Linked DNA regions of Homo sapiens: regions 2, 3, 4, 5, 6 and 7 are each linked to region 1. The links are contacts of gene promoters, found by promoter capture Hi-C in human tissues and cell types (Jung and others, 2019). All regions are on one chromosome and are shown on one strand. Each heading gives the region's core, a stretch centred on a gene start or on the middle of the fragment in contact. The rest is flanking DNA. Distances are from core to core; before and after follow the strand shown. Region 1 holds the start of SHISA9 (shisa family member 9). Region 2 overlaps SNX29 (sorting nexin 29). Region 3 overlaps SNX29-AS3 (SNX29 antisense RNA 3). Region 4 overlaps SHISA9 (shisa family member 9). Region 5 overlaps SNX29 (sorting nexin 29). Region 6 has its middle 6.8 kb from the start of SNX29-AS3. Region 7 overlaps SHISA9 (shisa family member 9).

Evidence for each region. The method cuts DNA at HindIII sites, captures the fragments that hold promoters and counts their contacts. A contact is called where the count stands out against the background at its distance.
Region 2: a fragment that was not itself captured here is called in contact with the fragment with the promoter of SHISA9 in region 1 in 1 of the 25 tissues and cell types used here (spleen).
Region 3: a fragment that was not itself captured here is called in contact with the fragment with the promoter of SHISA9 in region 1 in 2 of the 25 tissues and cell types used here (mesendoderm cells and thymus).
Region 4: a contact is called between a fragment that was not itself captured here and the fragment with the promoter of SHISA9 in region 1, in 1 of the 25 tissues and cell types used here (H1 embryonic stem cells).
Region 5: a fragment that was not itself captured here is called in contact with the fragment with the promoter of SHISA9 in region 1 in 2 of the 25 tissues and cell types used here (dorsolateral prefrontal cortex and hippocampus).
Region 6: a contact is called between a fragment that was not itself captured here and the fragment with the promoter of SHISA9 in region 1, in 2 of the 25 tissues and cell types used here (bladder and dorsolateral prefrontal cortex).
Region 7: a fragment that was not itself captured here is called in contact with the fragment with the promoter of SHISA9 in region 1 in 5 of the 25 tissues and cell types used here (H1 embryonic stem cells, bladder, liver and 2 more).

What each region holds. Positions count from the first base shown.
Region 1 is chr16:12,900,309-12,903,008 of GRCh38, forward strand. It overlaps SHISA9 (shisa family member 9), which reads left to right and starts at 1,290. Exons shown (of 5, transcript NM_001145204.3): 1 at 1,290-2,319. The coding sequence starts at 1,757. The HindIII fragment of the contact is 6,671 bases long and covers 1-2,700 here.
Region 2 is chr16:12,561,455-12,564,154 of GRCh38, forward strand. The region is part of intron 20 of SNX29 (sorting nexin 29); the gene reads left to right. The region is part of intron 2 of SNX29-AS3 (SNX29 antisense RNA 3); the gene reads right to left. Among named protein-coding and RNA genes, the nearest start is that of SNX29-AS3, 48 kb to the right of the region's middle. The HindIII fragment of the contact is 4,016 bases long and covers 1-2,700 here.
Region 3 is chr16:12,598,963-12,601,662 of GRCh38, forward strand. The region is part of intron 1 of SNX29-AS3 (SNX29 antisense RNA 3); the gene reads right to left. Among named protein-coding and RNA genes, the nearest start is that of SNX29-AS3, 11 kb to the right of the region's middle. The HindIII fragment of the contact is 6,215 bases long and covers 1-2,700 here.
Region 4 is chr16:13,232,595-13,235,294 of GRCh38, forward strand. It overlaps SHISA9 (shisa family member 9), which reads left to right. Exons shown (of 5, transcript NM_001145204.3): 5 at 2,436-2,700. Among named protein-coding and RNA genes, the nearest start is that of SHISA9, 330 kb to the left of the region's middle. The HindIII fragment of the contact is 4,795 bases long and covers 1-2,700 here.
Region 5 is chr16:12,541,715-12,544,414 of GRCh38, forward strand. The region is part of intron 20 of SNX29 (sorting nexin 29); the gene reads left to right. It also overlaps a transcript of SNX29-AS3 not described here. Among named protein-coding and RNA genes, the nearest start is that of SNX29-AS3, 68 kb to the right of the region's middle. The HindIII fragment of the contact is 6,327 bases long and covers 1-2,700 here.
Region 6 is chr16:12,616,585-12,619,284 of GRCh38, forward strand. No RefSeq gene overlaps it. Among named protein-coding and RNA genes, the nearest start is that of SNX29-AS3, 6.8 kb to the left of the region's middle. The HindIII fragment of the contact is 3,028 bases long and covers 1-2,700 here.
Region 7 is chr16:13,211,352-13,214,051 of GRCh38, forward strand. SHISA9 (shisa family member 9) reads left to right here. Exons shown (of 5, transcript NM_001145204.3): 4 at 1,902-1,949. Among named protein-coding and RNA genes, the nearest start is that of SHISA9, 310 kb to the left of the region's middle. The HindIII fragment of the contact is 6,661 bases long and covers 1-2,700 here.

The DNA.
Region 1 (2,700 bases), core at 40-2,539:
TTCTCTGAAGATGCCCTGAGAAGCCCTTGACTGCAGCCAAGTGGAGAGGAGGGTTGTGGAAACATTATCTCCTTGCAAATCGCCTAGCAGCCTGCAAAGTGTATACTTAGTTAATGCAATTAAAAAACAAAACGCCGGGGCGTGGGGAGATCTAAATTTGGTGTAGCAGCTTTGGTGCAAATCCTGTTTTGGGGCTACTGGAGTCAAATTCAAGCAGAGGAGAGAAAGAGGTGGGAGAAATGAGAGAGGGCCTCCGGGGAGCTGGAATTCGCTAGGAGAGAGAGGGCAGATTTGGAAACACAGAGGAGACGGGAGGCTGGAAGCTGAGGAAGCAAGGCAGAGCTCTGCAGCCCCCGGTGAGGATTTCCGGGGGGATCCGTGGGGACAGGGGCCAGCCAGCTCCAGAGACCGATGCGCGGGCTCCAGGTCCGGGAGGGTGGCTGAGGCTGGGTGCCCAGGCCTTGCGCTGCGCCAGATCCGGGAGCGCAGAGGCGGCGCCGCGGTGTTCCCTCCTGTGGAGCGCAGAAAACGCTGCGGGGGCGAAGAGGGACAGAAAGCGGCAGGTTCGAGAGGCTGGGGGACTTCCAAGGAAAGACCTTCCAGGACACGCCATAGCCTCGGCCTTGTTCGGCTGTCCCCTCTTACCCCCGACCTTCTTTGATTCGTTCATCCCGAGCCCCTCTCCCCCGGAGGGTGCTTATCCCTGGCTCAGGGGCTTGCCACCTGTCCTTCCCAGCTCCGCCTGGGTCCTTGCTTGGGCCCAGAGAGTTGAGCCATGCGGGTTGCGCTCAGGGCTGGAGGGCGCAGCCGGGAAGGGCAAGGAGGCCCCGCACGCCTGGGAGGGGCGATCCTGACCAGACTGCACCCAGTCTGTCTTGGAGTGAAAGCCATTTAGTCTGTCCCCATCCTCTCCGAGTCATCCTTCCCCTGATGCACAGATTTCGGCCGCCGCTCCTGCACACGCACCGGTGAAAAAGCTACGAGCTGAGCCGCCTCTGCGCTCTGGACAGGGCTGAGCCGCGCCTCCTACCCAGAGAGGGCGCGGGAGGTCCTGCCGCGGTTTTCCACCTGCCTGGAAATCCGAGCGGCTCCTCTAGCCTCGGCTGCTGCCGAGCTCGCTCCTCCCCGTCCGCTCGCCTGGCTCAGCTCTGCACGCCCCCCAGCTAGCTCCCGCTCTAGTCACCTCTTCCCCGCGCCCCCGCCCCTCTAGAGCTCGCGCCCGCCCCCCCCCACCCGCGCCTCCTCTGCCCGCCCTCCTCCCCCTCCCCCTTCCCTCCTGCCCTCCCTTCATTCCACAAGTGTCGCTTCGCTCTCTTCAGCGCACTTGGCGAGCTGGTGAGGTGAGAGGGATACTGCGAGAGGGCTAGGGGCGGCCAGTCCGGGGCTGCCGGCCAAGGCTAGGCGCTGCCAGCCCGATTCTCCTCTGCTCTCCACCCCCGCCTCACCCAGTGGCCGGCCGGACCTGCACCCCGCGCTTGACCCCGCTCATCCTCCCCCCGCCCGGCCGGGCGCGCTCCTCCCCGGCCGGCCCCTCGGCGCGCGGCGCGCTGGAGGCGAACGCGGGCTGAGGCGAACGCGGGCTGAGCCGAGCGCAGTGGCCGCCGACCACCGAGCGCCCCGCGCCGCTCCCTGCATGTGCGGCCCGCGGCGGCTCGCAGCTCCCGGCAGCAGCCTCGGCAGCTTCGGCCGCGCCTCGAGAGGCGGCCGCAGAGGCTCCAGCGGCGGCCGAGCGGCCGAGCCCGGGCTGGGAGACACCATGCGCCGCGTCCTTCGGCTGCTCCTCGGTTGCTTCCTCACCGAGCTGTGCGCCCGCGTGTGCCGGGCGCAGGAGCGAGCGGGACACGGGCAGCTGGCGCAACTGGGCGGCGTGTTGCTGCTGGCGGGGGGCAACCGCTCCGGGGCCGCCTCCGGAGAGGCCAGCGAGGGCGCTGAGGCATCGGACGCGCCCCCGACCCGGGCGCCCACGCCGGACTTCTGCCGGGGCTACTTCGATGTCATGGGCCAGTGGGACCCGCCGTTCAACTGCAGCTCGGGCGACTTCATCTTCTGCTGCGGGACTTGTGGCTTCCGGTTCTGCTGCACGTTTAAGAAGCGGCGACTGAACCAAAGCACCTGCACCAACTACGACACGCCGCTCTGGCTCAACACCGGCAAGCCCCCCGCCCGCAAGGACGACCCCTTGCACGACCCCACCAAGGACAAGACCAACCTGATCGTCTACATCATCTGCGGGGTGGTGGCCGTCATGGTGCTCGTGGGCATCTTCACCAAGCTGGGGCTGGAGAAAGCGCACCGGCCCCAAAGGGAGCACATGTCCAGGTGGGCTGCCTCCCCTTCGCCCTCCCCTCGGGGCTTCGCTCTCCCTGCTCTCTCCTCCCCACCTTCCCCCAGGCAATGGCGCTCCCCACGGTCCCCGCTCCCCGCATCCCAGCCTCTCCGCTGGGGGATGTCACCGGGAAGCCAACTTCGGCTTGGAACACGGAGAAGGGGCGCTGGGCTCAGCACAGGTGTGGGTCTGAGCGTGTTCGTGTGTGTGTGAGCGTGTGTGTGTGTGTGTGTGACTCTGCTCCCTCACCCTCTGGCCGCCTCCTCCCGCTGGTGACTGAGGCGGACTTGAGACACGTAGCCTGGGAGCCCGTGGCCCCGAAATCTTCGGGTTTGGGGAGAGGGTCCATGGCACCCCTCGGATTCCAGGTGCTA
Region 2 (2,700 bases), core at 151-2,650, 340 kb before region 1:
GCAGCTCCTAGTAAGTGGAGTATTGACCGGCTCGCCAGACCCAGATCACAGGTGAAACAAAGTGAAAAGTTAGTCTCTCCTCGCAGCCATTTTCACTGATGAGCAGTTGAGGCTGTCCGATTAATGTCAGCCGCATGCTGGTGACAGGACACAACGCAGTGTACCCCAAGAGGCTTATTAAAAAGAACAGCCACTCCTGGGGCCCTCTGAGGGTGCCCTCACACACAGACCCCCTTTTCCCCAACTCCCCAGTGCTGTGTTAAGTTGCTAGCAGCAGGGAGGATGGAGATGGAGTTTCTGAAATGAACACCAAAGCACATGTCAGGACCACGCGTGGCCTGGCAGGGGGCTCATTACCGCAGCTTACATCCTTCTCCCTGCAGGGGAGGGGAGGCAGTGCCCTGGGGACTTATGGGCTGTCTCCTAGGTGACCGTGGCATCCCAGGAGTTCCTTCTCCAGTTGCCTTCCAGGTGAGCTTAGAGCCAGGTGCATCCCTGGGGGCATGATGTCCCCAGAGTGTCTACCAGCTTGGTGACAATGGACCCTGCAACCCAGGAGGCCTGGCCCCTCATGGATTTAGGGATGGAATCATCTGTGCCGTTTTCCTTCCCGTGTTTTCTGCCCAGTAGTTTGAACCGCATTTCTAAGGCCGTTCACTCTCCTGTGTGACCCCAAAATGGCTCTGGCAATACCAGGTCTGTGGAGTAAGATTGAGGTCTGACCTGAGCATAGGGTTCACAGAGGAGTGAACCCTGCTGGAGGTGGCCAAGTTCAGAAGTGAAGGGCGAGGGCATTCACTAAGCAGCATCCCCATGGGCCACGCTCTATCCCAGCATCAAACGTTATCGTTGGCTTTGTCCCAAGAACCTGCAGGGCAGATTCTGTGATTTCCCCCTTTATTTTTGCTTGCACCATTTTTTAAAACAGCTCAAGAGACAGATCACATACCATACAATTTACCCACTTAAAGTGCACACAGCTTGCTAGTTTGACTTTGATCCCCCTTCATAGGCTAGGAACTCGAGTCCTAGAAAGGAGCATCGTGAGCAGCCCAAGTACACCTGCTGGTGAATGACACAGCCAGGAGTCATCTAAGACACTGTCCCCGTGGTCCCTAGTTTTTACCCAGAGACGGGGACAAAGGTCGCTGGCTCTTGAGAGCTACAGGCTATCAGGGTCTTCCCTGAGGGGCTGTTTTATGTCGGGAAAGTCTAGATTTACAGGCACTGCCTTCTTTGGAGTCGAGATTGAAGCCTACCGTGGTACTGTTTCTCGCTTTTATGGCATAGTTCCTTGAGTTTTCACAAAGGCTTGGAGTCCTTTAGCCATCACCATCAAGATGTGGAACAACTCCTTTCCCCCCAAATTTCCTAGCATTCCCCTATAGGCAACCCGACAGCTCCCGGTCTGTGCTTTGTCATTTCTAGTTTTGGGAATTTGACGATGTGCTTGAGATTCGTCCATGTTGCCAAAAACCTGCATAGTAAGAAGCAAACATTCACCCAACACAAGGGGTGAGGGCTGATGCGTAAGAAAAACTGCTTCAATGCGCCTTTCAAACCGTGTTTACATCATTGCAAGGGCCAAGGTCACCTCGAAATGTAGGTACTGGAAGAGAAATCCAGAATGTTACATAGAAGACGCACGCTAACAACAGAGCCTAGGAAAGGTCGCCACACGTCCTCATCCCAGCTCCAGGGGGGGCAACTCTGGGCTCAGGGATGTCACTTCCCACAGTCAACATGCTGGGATTGAGGCTCATACCCTGAAAGTGGCCTCCCCATCATCACTGACCCCGCCCAGGTAGCAGAGGAACGTCGGGTTCTGGATCCACAGCTCGGAAAGTCTGCTTTGTGACTGGAGAGAGTCACCGTCGAGGAGTGGCCATTATCCTGAGCCTGTCTTTTATCGCCACGTTGATATTTTACCCGTAACCATGAAAATAGATGGCGACTGGATTTTGTTCCTTGCGGTATGTCCTTTGCAGGTAAATTTAGGAAACCTAATAGGGTAAAAGGCTCAAGGAATAGGGCTATTAAAACGGGGAGACTCCTCCCCGCATGTGAAAAATTGAGTTGTCTCCCACCACTACCTGAGGGGTCTACCCCACCCCTTTGGGTGGTGGCTTAGGCCTCCATGTCTGTATCACCACATCTCACAGACGAGACTGTCCTGGCCCCAGAAGGTAGGAACTGAGTCTTTTCAATTCCCCGAGAGCCCATGATGGGGTCTGGCCTCATGTAAGAGGAACATGAGGAAAGCCAGAGATGGCACTGTCATTCTTTACCCAACAGCCACAACTTCTCCACCCTTGTCTGCCGACCTGTCTGAAGACTGCAACACCCACCCATTTGCTGCTTTTTATTTATTCAGGCTGCCTGTAAATATCCCTGCTGAATAGCCATCTCTCCCCATCTCTAGCCCCTTGGGCCTCTGCCGTCTCTGGAGCAGGCAGCCGAAGACCTACAATACCTAGACGCTGATCTTGTTCAAGAAAGACGAGGAAGGGCTTTTCAGATAAGGTTCCCTCTGCCCCTGCAGCACCCTCTTCCCCCAGGGTAGGGAGTTGAGGAGTTGCACCGGTAAAAGGTTGTGGTTTGGCAACGATGCTGTATTTTGGGAGTTTGTAATATCTTTGTAAAATCCTCCTTGATTGGGTGTGGTGGATCGTGCCTATAATCCCAGCACTTGGGAGGCCT
Region 3 (2,700 bases), core at 170-2,669, 300 kb before region 1:
TTTGTTTGTTAGGTAACATGAATGAGAAAATGGAGACCTTCATTCTGAAGCTGTCCATCAGCGTCTGTCCATCACCACATAGGGCCCAAAAGTAAGACCCACGGTGCGTTACAAGCTGTTGTGTAGACATGACCCAAGCTTGATTTCTAGGTTTCTGGTGGCAATCCGGAACAATCCACCTCTCACTGTCCCCAATCCATAAAGAGTCCTTCAGTTGAATATCACCAGGAACAAAGTTGCTGTTAATTCTTAAGTTGCCTCTGCACAAATCACCAAAGTATTTATTCTCCTAGACAGATGCAGTCCTACACTTAGCTTCACAGGCTTGGCGAGTGGGGCACCGGTCAGGCTTCAACTCCTACAGGCTCCATCAGAGGACATCCTGGAATTGTGTGCAACCTGTTCAACTGCACATGGCAGCCTTAAAGAGGTCCAGGATTTCCATCTGAGGTATTAAGAAAAGCAATCATAACTCTTCCTTCCACTCCCCGAAAGCATCACAAGGTCTTACCCACAGAGCTCAGCTTTAGTGAGCAAACTTCTTATACCTCAAATAAGAATCCTGTTTGGACAATGAAGAATCTGCCTTTGGCTAAGTGTTGGCTGCTGTGTAGATAATGTGCATATTGCCTAAACAGTCAGGCTCTGAAAATTGGGGAACTTCATCCCATTGCAATGGAAATAGTCAAGGTAAGGGAAGGCCTGGAGATGCAGGTTGGCCTTTGTTTTCTGGGGTTCTCAGACTCAGTACCTTCACAGTTCAGGAAGCCTCTGTCCTCCTCCTCACATAGCAGATACCACCTTGATCCTGCTCATCTTCCCTGGTTTCAGTAGAAGTCATTTTTTTGAGCATCTGTTACTCACAAGGACAGGTGGCTAACACATTTTAGAGCTACCATGTTAGGTGGGAATTGACACCCAGAGCAAGGCCACACAACTAGAGTGAGCCACACTCACACTCAGGGTAGCCAACTCCCAAAGCTAGCGATCCTTGGTGAAAGTCCAAATACCAACATCAATAACACTTAAGAGCGTGTTAATGCTTATCAGTTTCTAAGCCCCAAAGTCACTACTGTTCCTTATACAAAAAACATGCCTCCAATGAATGCAAATTAAGACCACAGTGATTTGTCATTTTAGAAATACCAGGCTGGCAAAAATGTCAAAACCTAATACGTTATAGTAGGCAGAGAAATGGCCCCGTGCAAGCATCCATCTCCTCCTGTCATGGGACACATCGTGGGTCATGGCAATGGCAAGGGCAGCCCATGTGGAGCAGCTACTGCAGGATGCCAGTTGCAGAGGCGGCAGCATGGCCAGGGCTGCGCAATTCAGAGCCAGCAAGACCTGGGAACATGCATGAGCCCCACCCTCCTGGGCACAACTGCAGCCACCCGGCTGTGGTTCTGGACCCGGGCATCCCTGTGCTCTCAGGGGGCTGGGAAGCCTCCCCTCCTACCGCAGGCTCCGAAGTGCCTGTTCCCACTTCCCTGGCCTGTCCCTGGATCCGGTGCCCACTTCAATTTCAAAGCAAAGTTGTGGCCAAGCCTAGACACTTTAGTAACCCACCTGGGGGGTACATGTGCTTCGGGCAGGATTCAAACACCAGCATATACACCACCACCCCCAACCACTACCTTGGCCCCCTCTGGACTTTGGGTGGCACTAAGTGTGGGAGGGAGGTCGGGGTGGCTGAGGGCAGCTCAGCATGGGCCTGCAAGAATCCCTAGGCCCAAACAGCCTGGGTGCTGTGGACAGCATGTTGATGGCGGGAGGCAGACACGTTTCTGGACAGAAAGGGGTAGGTCCCTGGTGAAACCTCACCTTCAAAGCCAGGGATGGCCTGAAGCCCGGGCTGTCTGTTCCAGGTGGAGTGAGAACTTATACTGCTTTCACTGGGCCCACTCATGGACCAATCAGCATGTACTTCCTTTCTTCTGAGCCTCTAACAACCCCAGACTCAGCCAGACTAACACAAGTCGGGACTACCAGCTACAGGAAGGAGTTACCCACTTCGGGTCTCCTCTCTGGTGAAAGCTGGACAGTCATCAGGACAACCTGCCTTTGGGAAGAAGCTACCCTCCGCAAGCCTCCTGAGAGCTGTTCCGTCACTCAGTGAAGCTCTTCTCTACCTTGCTCACCCTCCAGTTGTCCGTGTACCTCATTCTTCTAGGAAGGAGGACAAGTACTTGGGACCCGCCAAATGGTGGGACTGAAAGAGCTGTAACAAACAGGGCTGAAACACACCCACACACACTAACTTGCCACATTGCATGTATTGAGAAGGAAAGAGTTGCAGTCCTCCAGGGAACCCAGATCTAGGGGGCTCCCCAAGCCAGGACTGTAACACCCTCTTTGGGGATCAGGAGTTCCTGGCATCTCCAAGCTTCCAGCTGCCAGCACATACCCCTTGTTCAGACAAGGGTACCCACAGAAACAGCCACATGTGGTACGTCTGGTCCAGTCAGCCTTGCAGAGTCAGCACCTGTGCCAGTACCCAGAGCTGCCTGCCCTGTTGTAGCACCCAGCACACCTGGCCATACACAGCAGCCAGGCCCCACGCTTGTCACCCACACACCCGTCGTCACTTCGTGCCTGGCTCACCCTTGGAAGGTATGGGGTTCTGGGCCAGTGGCATGAGCCAAGTGCAGCCTGCTTAGCCAGGTGAGCACAATGAGCCCAGCAGGTGTGAGCAATGCT
Region 4 (2,700 bases), core at 73-2,572, 330 kb after region 1:
AGCTTGGTTTTATACATTTTAGGGAGGTATGAGACATCAATCAAATACATTTGAGAAATACATAAGTTTGGTCCAGAAAAATGGGACAATTCGAAGGGGATGGTGAGTGGGGAGCTTCAAGGCTATAGGTAAATGTAAACATTTCCTGGTTGACAATTGGTTGAGTCTAAAGACCTGGGATCAATAGAAAGGGAATGTTCAGGTGAAGATAAAAGATTGTGGAGACCAAGGTTCTTTTGAAGTCTTATAGTGGCAGCCCTTAGAGACAATAGAAGACAAATGTTTCCTATTTAGACTTTTAAAAGGTGCTAGACTCTCAGTTAATCTCTTTACGATTGGGAGGGCCTGGAAGAAAAAATCTAGCTATGTTAATAGAGCTTATTTACACATGTAGGTTTTACCCCACAAAAAAACTTTTTTTTTGCAGGGCCATTTCAAAGAACGACAAAAAAACATGTTTTGGGGTAAAATATTTTGACTTTCTTCTTTGTCATGTAATGTTGTGTCAGAGTCAGATAGGAAAGTAAGTCACGATATATAGCGTTAAATAAAACCCATCTGATGAGAATTTATGGTTTGTAGGATATGACTCCCAGACCCCTTAGATAGAAATCTGGGCAAGATAAGAAAAAATCAGAGCTTAGTCCTCAAAAGAAAGAACGAGAAAGAGAAGTAAAAATGAAGGAAGAGAGGGAGGGAGGAAGAGAGAGAGGAAGAAGGAAGGAAGGAAGGAAGGAATCCTTCAATGCTGGAGAGAGTGTAGTTAAATTGAGTGGAAATTGGTAAAACTCTTTTGTAGAATAGTTGGCAATATGTATCAAGAGCCTTAACAATGTTTATACTCTTTGGCCAAATAATTCTACTTTTTATAATCCAAATCAAAGGTCAGCAAACTTTTTAAAGAAGGACTGGGTAGTAAATATCTCAGGCTCTTCAGGTCTCACGGTTTCTGTCAGCTGAGTTTCAACCAGCACTCAATTCTACCACAGCAGAACAAAAGCAGCTATGGATAATATATAAATGAATGGGCATGGTTTTGTGTCCAATAAAACCTTGTTTACAAAATCAGGATGTGGCCAGATTTGGCCCCGTGGGCTATAGTTTGCCAATCCCTGATGTAAATTAAGAAAACAGGCCTGGTGCGGTAGCTCACACCTGTAATCCCAAGCACTTTGGGAGGCCAAGGTGGGAGGATTGCTTGAGCCCCGGAGTTCAAGACCAGCCTGGGCAACATGGTGAAACCTCATTTCTACAAACAAAAAAATACAAAAATTAGCCTAGTGTGGTGATGCTTGCCTGTGGTCCCAGCTACTCAGGAGAATCATCTGAACCTAGGAGGTAGAGGCTGCAGTGAGCTATGATTGTGCCACTGCACTCCAGCCTGGGCAGCAGAGTAAGATCCTGTCTGAAAAAATAATAATAAATAAATAAATAAGAAAACATTTTTAGAATTATGCTAAATTCAAAATTCTAAATATAAAGAGAGGTTTAAGTGAAAAGTTGCTATTACATACAACTGTATTTGTAATAGCAAAATATTGGCACAATTAGAACACTCATTAATAGGGGAATTAATTAATTTTGATAGTTCCACTCAATGAAATACTAGGTACACATGAAAATCCTGTTTATTAATAATTTATAACAACATGAAGAAATGCTTGATAGAACATTACTTGAGAAATAGAAACAAACTTATTTATAATGACGATGATAATGGTGGTAGATAATATCTAAGCACTTTACACAGATCATATCATTTAACTCTCCAAACAGACCTATGAAGTATACTTTTTTATTGTAATGGCTTTCCTTATGGAGAAGCTGATGCTGACAAATGTTAAGTAATTTAGTCAAGGTTAAGCTGCTGGCAGGTGTCACAGTTGAAATGTGAATACAGGTCTGGTTTAACTGCTAAAAGCAAAAACAAAAGCAAACAAACCAGCGGAGAAAAATCCCAAATTAAACTCTGTTTATTAAAAATACCAGAAGAAAATACACCCAAAAGTTGTTATCGGCTGTCTTGATTGGTAGGTCATAGATAGGAAGATCACTTAACATGTTCACTCTTTTCTCTAATGAAAATGTATCATTTTAATAAAAAAGAAACAACACGCGAATTTCATAGGCAAACCAACGATGGCAGAATGGTAGGTGGGACTGTGGGGGGAGAAGTGTTTATTTCGGAGGTCTAGAGGTTCCCTTGGGGATGCCTTTAATCCTCTTGGTCCTGCTCTTTGTTTGTGAAAAGGGCATGGTGCTGCCCTTCCCTCTGTCTTGTTCTAGGTGGAGTTTCTAGTGTGTCTTGTTTGGACTGTTGGCCCATTTTTATGCTGTTCTTGGGTTGACATGCCAGTCTCTAACTCTCTCTCTCTCTCTCTCTCTCTCTCTCTTCTCTTTCTTCCCCTTCTTCATCCACCCGTTCCGATGTGTAGCTGACAAGGTCAATGACGACTTCTACACCAAGCGACGGCACCTGGCTGAGCTGGCTGCCAAGGGGAACTTACCTCTGCACCCCGTAAGAGTGGAGGACGAGCCCCGGGCCTTCAGCCCTGAGCACGGTCCTGCCAAGCAGAATGGACAGAAGTCCCGCACCAACAAGATGCCCCCACATCCCCTGGCCTACACCTCTACCACCAACTTTAAGGGCTGGGACCCCAACGAGCAGTCCCTCCGGCGGCAGGCTTACAGCAACAAGGG
Region 5 (2,700 bases), core at 143-2,642, 360 kb before region 1:
CCTGTCACCTCCTGTCTTTTCCGTACTGTGCCAGCCAGTGCCTGATACTGACCTGCGTTTCCAACCCCCTGGAATGGAAAGGTTCAGAGGGCAGGAACCAAGCTCGCCTCTTCCCCTCTTCTCCCAGCTTTGTAGCACATGCCTGGAAACCAGTCAATGCTTGATGAATGTTTATGATGATGCAACAGATGTTTTCCACTGATTGCCCACGGTACATCCTGGGCCCACACAAGAGGACGCTGGATCCACTTCAGAGACTTGGCTTGTCTTATGAGTCCAGAAGGGCTCACGTTTGCAGCACCGCTCTGTTTTTTCTTTTTTTAATTAGTTTGGCAAAGATATTCCTAGTCACCAGTTAGTCCAAATCCTGCAATATTGTCTCTTCCCAACGGATCCCTAAATTGAGCCAGCATTTCCAATTCAGCCCACGCTACCTGGGCTCCTGCTGGGTGTCAGGCCCTGTGCTAAGCCTTTTCCACACAGGGTGTCAAGGAATCTGCAACTCAGAGGGATAGGACCTAGTGTTATTCCCTTTATAGATGAGGAAATTGAGGCATGGAGAAATGGAGGAACTTGCCCAAGATCACAGCTAGTAAGTTTTAGAGCTGCTGTTAGAGCAAGAGATTGTCTCAAAAGAAAAAGTTAGACCCAAGTTCTATCACCCAGGGTGGAGTACAGTGGCACAGTCTCCCCTCACTACAGCCTTCGCCTCCCAAGTTCAATTTTGTTTCCTCAGCTTCCCAAGTAGCTGGGATTACAGGGACCCACTACCACACCTGGCTCATTTTTGTATTTTTAGGAGAGGCAGGGTTTCACCACGTTGGCCAGGCTGATCTTGAACTCCTGACCTCAAGTGATCCACCCGCCTCAGCCTCCCAAAGTGCTGGGATTACAGGCGTGAGCCACGGCACCCAGTGTGGGTCTAACACTTAAACTTGTGTTTGAAGGCAGCGTGTTGGGAACATGGACTTTGGGGCCAGGCTGGTGTTGGTCCCAGTCTTTTACTCTTAAATCTTGTGCATATAAGCACTAGACTATCACTGCCTTTTTTTTTTTTTTAAACAAAGTATTAGTTAAATCAGCAAGTAAGTGAAGTTAAAGCATCCTGTAAGGTGTGTGGACCCATGAGCAGTACTCAGAAATGCTAAATGTCTGAGTCTCTAGAGGTCCCAGAAACATGATTTGAGTAGGGAATCTTTGCTTAGCAAAACTATAGAGCCCTACTTCAAATTAGCTTGAAGCAGAAAAGAAGTACTTACTACTCCTGTAACTATGAAGTCCAGGGACTTGGCTAGCTTCAGGAATGGCTGGATCCAGAGGCTCAAAAAGTGTCACCAGGACCCTGTTGGTTTCACCCTCAAGCATGTTCTGTCTGGTGGAAAGATGGATCCTGGCAGCTGCGTATCTTATAGATGGTTTAGATCCAGGCCCTGAAGCATAAGTGTTCTCATCAGCTCCTGTAGAAGTCCTAGGAAAAATCATATTCATCACGTTGCTCCTGATAGCTGTAGCGGAAATTCTAGAGATTCTGAATGATGCAGCTCTGGGTCATCAGCGCATGCATCTGGGTCCGTGCCTGTGGCCCGGGGAATGGAGCACCTTGATTAGCCAAATCTGGGGCAGAGGAGCAGGGTGTTCAGCCCACCTAAGCTCATGGACTGAACATGATTATCCAGAAGGAGGGGGCCCGATTCACTGAAAGGAGAGAAAGTGGGTGGGCAAACATATGTTCATGCTGCGGGGTCTGGTGAACAGCTGTCAGTAAAGCCACAGCCACCTGTGCTGGCGAGTCATTGTGTAAGAAGCTTGTGACACCTTTGGCCCAGACTTCCACGCCCACTGAGCCACGAGATCACGCTTCCGTGGTGCGTCCCAGTTCATCCTCCCCGATGGAGTGGGCAGTGCCCCAGTGCTCCGCAGCTGGTGCCGTCTGTCTCCAGACGCTCTTCCAGCCTGCATTCAACAAGCCAGTCGTATCAGAAAATATTAACCACGGGAATTAATGAATTTTGGCATTGCAGTGGAGTTGACTGGGGGAGATTTTCCAAGTTTATTTTCCAAGATGTATCTGGTGCTCTAGAGATTTCTCCCAGCCCATGAGACAGGGACACCTTCGTATTTGGAAGAGAGAAGCCAGTGGTGGAACATCCTCTTACCACACTACAAGAGCTTGCGTATTCCTTCATCCTGGATTGCCGAAGGTGGAATCCGGCACCCTCTCGTTCTAAGCGAGGAGCCTATCTGCTGGGAGAAATGGTCTCAGCCAAGGTCACACCATGGGTTAAATGCAAAAGCCCTGGACTCTAGACCCCGTTGACTCATCACATTGCAAAGCCACAGGAATCACATTGGTAGGGGTAGAGGTCTTTCTGCAGACTTGGTTGTGGAAGGCTGTTAAGGAAAACAAGTCCATAACCCTATATTCACCGGCATCATTCCTAAGAACACGGGATGGGAATCGGTGGTGTGCACATCAGCCAAGGCTTCAGAACCGTGACAGCCGGTTCCTCACCACACCAAGATTGAAACTAACTTACCCAGATTGCAACTCAGGACTTTACACTCTCAGTACGGCATCCAGGCCACAGGGGAAGGTGGACCCCAAAGTCATGAGGCAGGAAAAGTCAGTACTGTTGGAAAGGAGAAGTGATGCTGGGGAGTGGAAGGCGTTGTGAGGTGGTTCTGCTAAAACATTATGTC
Region 6 (2,700 bases), core at 117-2,616, 280 kb before region 1:
AGTAGCAGGGCGATACAAAATTGCAGTTGTTTACACATTATTCTCCAAGCTAGAAAATGGTCAGGAAACTGACATTTACTTTGAGCAGGGTAGTCCCATACTGTATCAACGTAAAAACGAACAAGTCAAATATACAACACAAAGCTTTTTAGAAACAATAGCCGCAAAGCTAAATCTTATTTTAAACGATCTATATAAAACTAAATTTTCACTAAATGACAGACTTGTATCACCCTCAAAGACTGTCAGTCAATTCTTCCCAAATTTTATGAACGTAATGCATCACAACCCTTGTTCCGTATGTCAATTCTTTGTAGAATTTGACCAACTTATTCTGAAACGCAGAAGAGCTAGGGCAGTTTTGGGAAGGGAAAAATAAAGGGAAACTTTGACCACTACAAACAAGAATCATATTACAAAGCTCTATGAAACCAGGGCAGGAATACATAAACCAAAGAATCAACACCCAAGTAGAGACAAAGGTTTGACAGAGGTTAAAGCGGGTATTTTCACATGAGCAGAGCAAGACTCAGTCTTAAAACAACTGCCTGTGCATCCAGAAAAACAGTACATTGGAACACTTGTCACACACAAAAGTGAACTTTAGCAAATCCTCGAACTATTTGAATAATGAAATACAATTTATAGACCTTGCACTATTAGACTTACAAATAAGTTTTTCAAAAACTATAGAAGAAATGACTGATGACCACAGTGAAGTGTTGAGGTTCTGCATGACAAAAATATGAACAAAGTAACACCAACATTCCAGAAGGTATTTGTAACTTACAGCAAATTGTTAATGACAAGGGTCCCCAAACCCCAGGCCACAGACCAAGAAACGTTCGTGGCCCATTAGGAGCAGGTGACACAGCAGAAGGTAAGCAGCTGGCGAACAAAGCGTCTGTATTTACAGCTTCTTCCCATTGGTCACATCACCACCTGAGCTCTGCCTGTCCATCAGTGGCAGCATTAGATTCTCACAGGAGAATGAACCCCTATTGTGAACTGCGCGTGTGAGGGATCTAGATTGCGTGCTCCTTCTGACAAGGTAACTAATGCCAAATGATCTGTCACTGTCTCCCACCTCCCACCTCCAGATGGGGCCGTCTAGTTTCAGGAAAACAAGGTCAGGGCTCCCACTGATTCTACATTATGGTGAGTTGTGTAGTTTCATTATTATGTCATAATTTTAAAGTACACGAGAAATGTAAGGTGCCTGAACCATCTCCCAAACTGTCCTCCCCTCCCACCAACCCCATCTGTGGAAAAACTGTCCTCCACACAACCGGTTTCCTGTTGCCAGAGTTTGCTGACTGCCAATCTACAATGTATGTGCTTTAGAGAACACCCCTTTTGTTTTTTACATTGGCTGAAACTGGTCAAGAAAATAGGCTTCTCTCCCCAAGGCCTCCCCATTTCCCAAGAAAATGAGATACTAATCAAAAAGTGGATATAAATAAGCAATTCACAGAAAATGCACTCACTGACCATATGAAAAGATGTTCACCTCATCAGCAATCAGGGGGCTATAGGTTAATGAAGTATTTCTAGCTATTAAATCACCAAAAGCTTAAATATGATCAGGTGTTCTCACACCTCACTTGTGGTCCAATTCCTATAACCGTTTTGGAGAAAATTTTGACAAAGAAATATGTGCATGCCCCAAGATGGAGCCACCATCAGTATCTCCGCTTGAAAAGCATTTACCCAAACATCAAGATGGCCTGGCCAGGGGCCTGAGCTGTGTGTAGTAAAGAAAAACAACAGGAAACCACCCAGATCGCGTCCAATTGATAGGATGGTTGTGTAAACTTTTATATATTTGGACCATAATAAACCAAGCAGTTAGAAAATTTCTCCGAGTATACTGATACAGCTGAGCTGCAAGCAGCGAAAAAACCAAGTTGCTGAATGATATGTACATGATACAGTTTATACCTAACAGTTGCTGAAAGCATAGATGTTAACGCATAGGAAAGGCCTGGGAAAGTGCACATGAAACTGAACAAGATCTGCCCCAGGGAAGGGGGAAGGAGACTGAGTCCTAGAATCATGGTAGGTGGTCATGGTACAGTGGGTAGCTAGTCAGACATGAGCAGGGAAGCAGCAGCCCCCATCCCCCCACCACCACCAGGAATGCCAGGGCACTACCAGGTCATGTTCTGGCAGTTGTTAATGGTCTGAAATAATTGGTCTCAGCCAGTGCCAGGGAAAGGCAGGCTTACAACAGATAGACACACCTGAGGGCGAGCACAGTTGCTCATGCCTGTAATCCCAGTTTGGGAGGCCGAGGTGGGTGGATCATGAGATCAAGGGTTTGAGACCAGCTTGGCCAACATAGTGAAACCCCGTCTCTGCTATAAATACAAAAATTAGCCAGGCATGGTGATGAACTCCTGTAGTCCCAACTACTCGGGAAGCTGAGGCAGGAGACTCGCTTGAACCCAGGAGGCAGAGGTTGAGGTGAGCTGAGATTGTGCCACTGCACTCCAGCCTGGGAAACAGAGCAAGAATTCGTCTCAAGAAAAAAAAAAAAAAAAAAAAAAAAAAAAAAAAAAAGACACCCTAAACTGGTCATCAACAGCTTACCAGTAAGATCTCAGGAGCTGGGCAAGTGGGCTCAAACATGCAGAGAGGCAAAATAGCAGAGTTTTAAACACTCGACTGGTAAGAGAAGAACACCTCAAGTGGGCTTGT
Region 7 (2,700 bases), core at 121-2,620, 310 kb after region 1:
GTATAATTGAACTCTAGTGTATTTGAGGTATGCTATACTGGAGGTATATTTTACATACAGTGACATACACAGTTCATAATTTTACAATAGTGTGATTGTTTAAAAAAAAAGCATACACTTGGTTATCCACATCCCAATAAAAATGAGAAATATTTTCGTCACACTGAAAGTTCCCTCATATCTCCTTCCTTTTAATACCTTAGGTCTACTTCCTCTTCATGAGCATTTTTCACCCTCAAAGTATTTTTCTAATGTCCATGAGTGTGACCAAGTACACAGTGGAGCCTTAACTAAATGTTCCGTAGCCTATACATCATCTTATTAAATGCCCTATTGTCAATGAACTTATAAATGAAAATTCATTATTGTAATAGCTAAGCCCTATCTGAGCTAATGGGAACAGAGGTGACAAAATAATGGTTCCTGCCTTCAAGGCAAACAGCAATGGATTTAATTTGGGGTTCAGATGGCTTCCCTGGAGTCAGCGACTTGTTGGCTTGGTCAGCGTGTGGCCATCCACACAGGAAGAATGGGGGTCGCACCACTATTTCCAGATGACCCTGGCTATGGGGGAGAAGAGAACCGAGTCATCCTGGGTGGGCCCGACTCAGTTTTAACTTCCTCACTCTTCTCTCTTCTGTTGCTCCAATTGTCCCTCTTGTGAGTGATGAGGGGTGTACAGTTCAGATCCACGGGGGGGATGTGGCGATTTGAGCATCCTTTGGCACGCCTGGGGAGGCCAGCCAGAAATGTTTAAATGGGGCCGGATCTGTGCTCTGTAATCATTCAGATGACAGACTGTTCCCTGCGCCTTCACTCAGCCTGATATATCTCTGGAAATAGTGCCAAACTGTTGAGGACTTGGTCTTTCTAGGTAGATGCCTAAGAAAGGAAAGAGCTAGGACCACACGCTGATTGGCCAGGTCTCCAGCCAATGAGGAGAGGTCTCGTGGGTAGGGTTGCCCCACTTTAAGCAAAACCCAATCTTACAGAGAACTATCAAAGAAAATGCGAGGTTGGTGGGGGTTGGGTTGGGTATAGCCTTGGCCAATTCTCAGTATCCTTCATTTTATGAAAGGAGTCATTATGGAATTCTGTTAATAATGTTAGATCTCCCAGGGCTCATTCGGGACATCTGAAAGGGAATTCAATTCGGATAAACTGATTTATAATGAAAACTCCAGGCACACACCTGTTCTGTAAAGCAATGTATTACTCATTATGGGATTCTCAGATAACAAGCTTGATCTCGTTACCGTTTAGAATTTCCCTACCTTAGAAAGGGTGACTCTGTGGATAAAATTGAATGCATTCCTTCATTCAGTCATATTTTCCAAACACAGAATGTGTGTTAGGTACTGTGGTAAGGTAGCCCCCACCCCATGGGGCCTGTCACCCAGCATTTAAAGTCGCAGTCAGTAGAGCCTGTCCCAACCTTGAATCTGGGGCTAATAATGTGCCCCTTTTCAGGAGGGGGATTGCAGTGGAACACGATCAAAGTCTATCTCTTGTCATCAGAGTGTAGTCTTGAGCCAAGGTGAGCTCATATAACTCAAACTTTCCTTTCTTTCTAAGCAGGTTGAAATTTACAGCCAGATTTTCTACCTAAGAATTATCTTTCTGCCTTACGTAACTGAAAATATCTCGGCCTTTTTCAGGAGGCTTCTTTTGATCTTCTGTTGGGTGTTAACGTGAGGCTGCTTCAAGGCCTTGCAGAAAGAGGTACACACATAGCTGCATTTTCACACGTGGCTCCCTTCCCTGTTCCCTGGGTCCCCTGAGGCCTGTCCCTGCTTGGAGGCTGCAGCAGGGGCAGCCAACAGCACCTGGGTGTGAGGGCATAGTGAACATGGGTGCCCTGCAAACAGATCATCAGCATTTCTTGATTGTTATTTTTTTAGGAAGTTCTGATGGTGACTGGGCAGTATCGACACTTAAGTCACCAAAAGGTACTGTACAGCTTTTTCTAGCTCTTTTGTCCAGGTGTTGTCAAAGTTAGCATTAAATAATGAAGGGATAGAGAGTCCTGGTGTCTGTGTGACCTGTGCACATGTGTGTCTGCATAGGGTGGCATCTGCAAGTCCGTCTAAGTTCCAGTGTGTAGGTGTTTGTGTGTTTGTGTGTGTGTGTGTGCATCTAGCAATTGTTGGACAACGTGGTAGCCCTCACTTCCCAATATTTGCTGCCTGATGGAAAATATCACTATGAGAAATCATGCCAGGTAAGGTGAAATATGTTGATTTTTCTCAGAAAGCTGCAATGGCAAATGGCAAAACACAAGGTTAATTAATGGGGGCGGGGCGGGGGAAGAACACAGCTTCTGAGGGAGAGAAAAACATAATCAAGTTATTGGCCAAGGGTCTTGGGAATGACTAGCCTTTTAGAGAACAGAATGCTATTTTCAACTTTCCTGGGACAGCGTGGTGAGCAGAGAGGGTTAGGAAGTTGGTCGACTTGAGTCTGTGAGTTAACCCAGCTGGGTGACCAGACCAGGTGGCAGCTATCATTAATTAGCGCCCTACTATGTGCCAGAGGACTGGCCCTTTACATCATTTTATCATTTAATTCTATGATGATCAGGCTGTGTAGGCATTGTCATCTGCATTTAGAAATGAGGACATGATGTCTAAGTATGGATAAGTCTTGCTGGTCTAGAGTCATGTGACTATTCAGTGGTAGATCTGCAGTTTGAACCTCTAT